Regions from separate parts of the Homo sapiens genome. Here region 2 is linked to region 1. Evidence: promoter capture Hi-C in 16 types of primary human blood cells and fetal thymus (Javierre and others, 2016). All regions are on one chromosome and are shown on one strand. The core of a region is centred on a gene start or on the middle of the fragment in contact, and the rest is flanking DNA. Distances in the headings are between cores, read along the strand shown.

Region 1 (3,739 bases), core at 525-3,024:
TCCACGCCAAGTATTGCAACCATAATCTCAAAAAAATTGTTCAATTTTAGCACACAGTTCCTGCAAGATACCACAGCAGGTGAGAAATCATCTCAAAGAGTTCATCTTTTACAACTGAGAGGAAAACATCGAAGGAGGAAATAAAACTCCTCTCTCCTAAGTTCCTCATCAAATCTGATGGCTATGTTCACAGAGTTAGTTGACAAAAATCCAGAGTCCTCAATTTCTGGACTTGCGAAATCCTTCAAGGTGACTGTCAAGGTCAAGAAGAATTTTCAGGCTTTTCTTTGCCATGGCCCATGAACTCCAGTCCTTCAATAGGAATCTCTTTCTCCTTTATTGCTTTCTGGTAGGAGGAGAAAACACATTATAAAGACCTACATGAAGCTTAAGTTGCAAGCTTTGTAAATAAAATATGACAGTACAAAAGTAAAATCAAGCTGATTATAAAGACTTATAACCATGATTCAAACCACATACTTTTTAAAAAACAAGTACCGGTCAGGTGTGGTGGCTCACGCCTATAATCGCAGCATTTTGGGAGACCAAGGCAGGTGGATCACTTGAGGCCAGAAGTTAGAGACCAACCTGGCCAACATGGCGAGACCCTGTTTATACTAAAAATACAAAAATTAGCTGGGCATGGTGGCGCATGCCTGTAAGCCCAGCTACTCGGGTGGCTGAGGCATGAGAATAGCTTGAACCTGGGAGGCGGAGGTTGCAGTGAGCTGAGATTGTGCCATTGCACTCCAGGCTGGGAGACAGAGTGAGACTCTGCCTCAAAAATAAATAAAAACCAGAAGTACCATAATGAATAAATCAAGTGTAAGACCTGAGGGAGACTGGAAAAGGAGTTGTGAGGGAACCGTTAAAATTAAGTGAAATTTGAAAAATAATCATCACTTTGTGTTAGTGAAAGACTTAGGTTCAAATCTGGGTTCCAGGACTTACTGGCTATGTGACTAACTGTAAATGGGATGAAGACAGCAACTACCTCGGGGAATTGCTGTGAGGATGTGTTGGGTTAACTTATTGGAAGTGCTTTGCCCGGTGCTGTTCTTAACAATTCAAAGCAGTTCCACATCCATTGGGCCAGAATAAACATTTCCTGGCTGCAGTTGCGGGGACTGGTCAAGAGAGAGAAACAGGCTAACGAAGGGTTTATAACAACAAAAAAATGTGACCCTCCAGTCTGAATTCTGAAGTATAATCCCGCCCAGACCCCAGCAGTAATAGTGGAAAAGTGCACCACCTGCGAAAGAACCAAGGAAACCTGATGCTAGTGAACTCGGATTAATCACTTCCTATTTCTGGGTGTTAGTTTTTTATGTATAAAATATGAGTAACTATGCCCACCTTGCGAGTTTAGGGTGAACACCAAATGAACCAAAGGATGTGACTGTGCTTCTTGAAAAGCACTGCCCCAATATTTGTCATTCGGAGAGACACCCAAGTGGCCTCGGTGGTGATGGTAGGGGAGCGAGCTCCTGCCACTGGCCTCACTGCGACTTTTCTCCACCCTTCCAGTCCAGTCCCAATCCCCGTAAAATACGATGAGTGTGGTGGGACACAGCGCCGAGAATGCAGGGCCTGGGAACAGAGGCGGGAGGGCTCACCTGAACACACTGCTGGTAGCGCTTGAAGAGGTCGGTGCACGGGTCCCCGGAGCTGTCCCCCTTGAGAAATTTCTCGGCGAACCAGCGATTGAAGCACTGGTCGTACTCGCGCTTCATGTCCGTGCATGCCTCCCCCACACTGTTCATGGCGACAGTGGTGGCGGCGGCGACGACGGCGCACTCTGATGTCATCACTCTCAGGCGCGTCGCTCGGCGTTACGCGCGGGCGCACTGCGGGGGCCAAGGAAGGAAGAAATGTGGTCGCGGTTGGTGTGGCTGGGCCTTCGGGCCCCTCTGGGCGGGCGCCAGGGCTTCACCTCCAAGGCGGATCCTCAGGTAAAGGCCAGGGCCATCTAGGCGGGTGGCGGAGCAAGCCGGGAGGCACTTCGGAGCGCCGGTGACCCACACTCCCCGCCTCATCCCTCCTCCAGGGCAGTGGCCGGATCACGGCTGCGGTGATCGAGCACCTGGAGCGTCTAGCGCTTGTGGACTTCGGCAGCCGCGAGGCAGTGGCGCGACTGGAGAAAGCTATCGCCTTCGCCGACCGGCTACGCGCCGTGGACACAGACGGGGTGGAGCCCATGGAATCGGTCCTGGAGGACAGGTAAACTCGCGGCTGCAGCCCCGAAGCCTTGACCGTGGCCCGTTCGCAGCCGTTTAATGTGACGATTAGCGAACAGTTTTCCAGGGGGTTAAAGAGTGTTAGCAAGATTCAGGAACTTGCCCACAGTCACCTCGCGAGTCAGTGGCTTCACTCTTCCCCTTGTTCATTACTGATGCTCTCGCTAGTGTAAGTGGAAACAAAACCCGAACTGCTAATCACTGCCTTTGTTTTTTTTTTTGTTTGTTTGTTTTGTTTTTTTTTTTTTGAGACGGAGTCTCGCTGTGTTGCCTAGGCTGGAGTGCAGTGGCTCGATCTCGGCTCACTGCAACCTCCGCCTCCCGTGTTCAAGCAATTCTCTGCCTCAGCCTCCCGAGTAGCTGGGATTACAGGCGACTGCCACCAGGCCCGGCTTATTTTTTTTGTATTTTTAGTAGAGACGTGGTTTCACCATCTTGGCCAGGTTGGTCTTGAACTCCTGACCGTGATCCACCCGCCTCGGCCTCCCAAAGTGCTGGGATTACAGGTGTGAGCCACCGCGCCTGGCCTAATCATCGCCTTTAAGGCCCTACTCCATAGAGTCCCTACCTACTCACTCCAACGTACTCTTCTCAGTACTCTCCTTGGCTACCTTGACTGCTTCTCCAGCAAGACAAGTTCTTTTCCTCTCTAGATCTCTGCACTGGCCCTTCGTTTTTTTCCTTCCTCTCAGTATTTGCATGGCTGCCTCCCTCTTGGCACAGGTCTCAGCTTATCTTCTCAGAAAGGGCTCTCCTAACCACTCCAAATCCCTTCTCCCCTTCTAGTTAGTAACTCATCCTATTGGGTTTTTTCCCTAACATTTTAATGGACTTTTGTTCATTTGTTATATCTCTTTTATTAAAATGTGAGCTCATTATGTAGTTACTGTTTTATTCCTGCCTTGAATTTTTATTTTATTTGTTTTTGAGATGGAGTCTCACTCTATCACCCAGGTTAGAGTGCAGTGGCATGATCTCAGCTCATTGTAATGTCCACCTCCCAGACTCAAGAGAGCCTCCCATCTCAGCCTCCCAAGTACAGGACCACAGGCGCGTGCCACTTGGCCTGGCTAATTTTTTGTATTTTTGATAGAGACGGGATTTTGCCATGTTCCCCAGGCTTGTCTGGACTCCTGAGCAAAGGTGATCCACCCATCTCAGCCTCCTAAAGTACTGGGATTACAGGCATGAGCCACAGCACCTGGCCGTGTTTGATTCTTTCAAATGTCTTCTCTACTTTGCAATTTTCTTTTTCCTTTGGGACGGGGTCTCACTATGTTGCCCAGGCTGGTCGCAAACTTCTAGACTCAAGAGATCCTCCTGCCTCAGCCTCCCAAATAGCTGGGACTATAGGTGTGCACCACCACACCTGGCTAATACTTAAAATTTTTGTAGAAACGGGGTCTTGCCATGTTGCCCCATATGGTCTCAAACTCCTGGTCTCAAGCAATCCTCCTGCCTCAGCCTCCCACTTCCTCAAGAAAGTTTTTTTTTTTTTTTGA
Region 2 (3,739 bases), core at 425-2,924, 250 kb after region 1:
CCCTTCCTGTGAATTTCCTTCTTCCTATGCTAAGCTTTTTGTTTGTATTCTTTGTTCCTTAAAGCCAATATAAGAACTCCTGGGCAGTGAAGGAACACGGCTTTGATTTGACCCGGGTTAAGGATGCTAACCACCCTGGATATCCAGACCCATCATTTCTTAAATTATTTTTGAACTTCAAGCCCAAACACGTGCATGATGTCCAACTGCTTGAAAGGATGTAAAGCTGATGGTTTTGACATTGTTTTCTTTTCTTATCCTGGAAGGTATTTGATGTACGATTGAATGGCCACGTCGTGGTGAAGGACTTGGATATCTTTGATCGTGTTGGGCATAGCACAGCTCACGATGAAATTATACCTATGAGCATCAGAAAGGGGAAGCTGAGTGTCCAGGGGGAGGTGTCCACCTTCACAGGGAAACTCTACATTGAGTTTGTCAAGGTAATTCCCCTATTCTGCCCATTGCTGAAGAGAGTGGGTACAGGGGAAGTTGTTTGCTGCTGTGTGGGGTTGACCACTGTTTCCCTTTTCCTAGGGGTACTATGACAATCCCAAGGTCTGTGCACTCTACATCATGGCTGGGACAGTGGATGGTAGGTTGTGTTCTGACCTGCTTTTTTGACTTGAGTGGAGGGATATGGTTGAGGAAGCCCTTGGGAGGTAATTGAGCTGATGACTATTTTGGAAACACTTAAAGCTAAATTGTAGGGGATTCAGAATCAGTTGGATAAGGATGAAGCATAACATGGTACTAGCCACAAGCTTTGGAGTCAGGTCTATGTATATCTTGTTGCTGCCATTTAATCAGATGTTTGTCTTGGATGGATGCTTTTAATTTCCCTATAAATTGGGATTAATAATGGTACCTATTGGTGTACCCTGACCTTTGTAGTCATTTGGGATCACCTAAAACTTGTCCTTATTCTGTTTGTTTGACATCTCTTTCCTAGGGGAAAAAAAGGTAAAAGGAGGAGTCCTGTAGGCTTTTGGTATGCTCTGAAAGATTCCAGCATTGCTGGACTGCACTGGGACAAAACTTCACTTATTTATGTCTCCTTATCCTTGGGATCAAGTCTTAGAGTATATTTCTTTCTCAGGGTTTAGATTCTCCTGGCTGCCAGCATCTCAGGCTGATTTTTGCAGAGAAAGCTGCGTCTTTGTGACATTTCTCCCCCATTCCACCTCTGTACCTTTCCCCAACTCAATCTTGAATGCACTGAGGATTTCATCCTGTTGTCTTGATGTCCCCCAAATGCTGATATTATGACATCTAGGAGGATGAATGTCTTACCACCAAACAGACCTGTGTTCAAGTCCCTGAGGAGGAGGCAGGACAGAGGGATAGTGTGTGCTGGGAACCCAGAACTCTCTGGGTCAACGTTTCTTCAGTTGTTGTGTGAATCAAAAGGGAATGTGGGCTTGTGGGAGGAGGAGGGATTTGAAAAGGCTAAAGTTTAGGCATTGGATCATTGTCCCTGTCCAGTCTGGTTATCTTGGGGCTCTGTAAAAGTAGAACAGGAAGGTAAGATAGTGAACCTCCCTATGAGCACGGCTTTTTCTACTTTCTAGTTAAATCTAAAGCTTTTGCAGCACTCTGCTGTTCTGTAGACCAGAGGCTATTTCTGCTACTTCTGGTCTTTTCTCTGGACCCGGGTTCAATCACAGCAATCTCTTTATTGTGGCTTATTTGCTGCTTTTAAGGGTCTCTCTTACTTAAATGCTGTGGGTCTTAACAGTGTTTTCTTCCTTGTGTTAGATGTACCAAAGCTTCAGCCTCATCCGGGATTGGAGAAGAAAGAAGAGGAAGAAGAAGAAGAAGAATATGATGAAGGGTCTAATCTCAAAAAACAGACCAATAAGAACCGGGTGCAGTCAGGCCCCCGCACACCCAACCCCTATGCCTCGGACAACAGCAGCCTCATGTTTCCCATCCTGGTGGCCTTCGGAGTCTTCATTCCAACCCTCTTCTGCCTCTGCCGGTTGTGAGAACAAATGACTATCCTGAACAGGGTGGAGGGGTGTGGGAAAGAAACCAGCCATATTGGTTTTGGTTTCTGTATTTTTCACAATGATTAATGAACAAAAACAAAGAGAAAAAAACACACATCAATTAAAGGAGACAAAAAGAGGCAGAGCGAGTAGAGAGCAGCCCTCATTCACCACCTGGTCCCAGACGTGCTTCAGTCCTCGTCCTCTCTTTGTGGCTGGCTCCCAGCCTTCTCTTTCCTCTTGAGGATACTTAGGGTAAACTGGATCCTTCCTGCTCAAGGATCCTCATTTGTATACCTAGTGGAAAGGACTCTGAACTCAGAGGAGTCACTGTTCCTTTTTTTAGGTTAGAAATTAACAGCAGGGAAATGCCATCTTATTACCTGAGACGACCAGCACTGGGAGTTAGGTACGGTCTGAAGTTATGTCTAGATAAGACTTCAGACGTCCTGGGATTGAAAGAATGTGTGTGAAGGGGTAGAATTTGTGCGGTAAAGACTTAAAAAAAAAAGTAGGGAGATTAAAAAAAAAGAAAGAAAATGCTTCCTTATCTGGAAGCCTTTCTGGATTAATCCAGTGATGGTCCCACCTTTAGTGTTTGAGCTTTGTCATTGCTTGTCTCCCTGGCATGTGCCAGTTATAGACTGTCCAGCATCCAAGACGTTTCGGTTATGTCGGGTCCTCAGATCGCCTCTGACTTGTTACCACAACAAATCATTTTGATTTCAGTGCCTGTTGGGGACTTGATTTCTTCTCAGTTTTGTTTGTTTGTTTGTTTCCTTAATCTGGCTCATTTGAAATTTCTTCTCCCTCTCAACCATCCCACTAAGTTATAGCCAAGAAGGGAAGGAGACACGGGGATTTGGGGTTCTCTGCTTGAATGTCTTCTCCTTTACCACCTCACCTTGTTGGTACCTCCCTCCCTGGATCTCTGAGCCAGCAGCCAGGAGGACCTGACCCAGCAGTTCTTTACTGGCCCCTTTGTAGGGCCTTGCTGCCAGGGGGCAGGGATGCTTTCCAGCCTGCAGCAACAGAACACTTGACCTTAAAAGTCTCTTCTGGTCTTTGGATTAGAAAAGGCTTATGTTAGCATAGCTTAAGAGCAACCTCAGAGATTTGAGCCCTACTAAGTGACTGACCACTGTTTAGAGTGTCTGGTATCTGATGTTCATTTATTCCCATGTTCTTGTGTGTCACAGTTCAGCCAGTTTTGGTTTATGCCTAGAGCTACTTCAAGGAACTAGACTAATTAGCTATATAGGCCCAGCGATGCTTCTTATTGATCTTAATAGTATGCCCCTCCTTCCCCTGTCCTTTCATTTCTCTATCCAAGTAGCAGTCAGGTTCTTGGTGTGATGGGACTGAAAGAATTCCAGTCAGCCAGAGCCTTGGCAGCTCTGAAGCTAACCTTAGCATCTAAGTGTCGATCTTGAATTCCCTGAAAAAATTTCTATAGGAAATGAAGCTTCCCTGGTCCCCTCCTTTCTGGCCATTGTCATCCATTTCCCAGTTAGGGCAACAATGAAGGAGGACCCAGCCAAGCTAGAAGGAATTTTGTGGATGGGAGACAGCAGGATTAGCTTCAGCTTGGGCTGGAGCAGTCAATATAGGATCTCAGGCCAGGCCCGCTTTTCTAGAATGTGTTTAATTTTGAGTTTGCTTTATTAGATATGTTTTTTAAGAGCTCTGTATATTTGAACTGCTCCTTATGTGACAAAATAGGTAGCTCTTGGGCTCATGTCCTGGGT

What was found. Contacts are between HindIII fragments. The CHiCAGO score rates a contact against its expected background, and 5 or more counts as called.
Region 2: a contact is called between a fragment that was not itself captured here and the fragment with the promoter of TRIAP1 in region 1, in 1 of 17 cell types (M1 macrophages). The highest score is 6.4, in M1 macrophages.

What each region holds. Positions count from the first base shown.
Region 1 is chr12:120,444,610-120,448,348 of GRCh38, forward strand. It overlaps TRIAP1 (TP53 regulated inhibitor of apoptosis 1), which reads right to left and starts at 1,775. Exons shown (of 2, transcript NM_016399.3): 1 at 1,617-1,775; 2 at 1-346. The coding sequence starts at 1,763. The coding sequence ends at 263. It overlaps GATC (glutamyl-tRNA amidotransferase subunit C), which reads left to right and starts at 1,835. Exons shown (of 4, transcript NM_176818.3): 1 at 1,835-1,952; 2 at 2,048-2,220. The coding sequence starts at 1,872. RefSeq lists enhancers at 957-1,804, 1,116-2,315, 1,530-2,079, 1,677-1,971, 1,805-2,650. The HindIII fragment of the contact is 13,544 bases long and covers 399-3,739 here.
Region 2 is chr12:120,694,558-120,698,296 of GRCh38, forward strand. It overlaps MLEC (malectin), which reads left to right. Exons shown (of 5, transcript NM_014730.4): 3 at 267-443; 4 at 538-595; 5 at 1,759-3,739. The coding sequence ends at 1,988. Among named protein-coding and RNA genes, the nearest start is that of MLEC, 9.3 kb to the left of the region's middle. The HindIII fragment of the contact is 186 bases long and covers 1,582-1,767 here.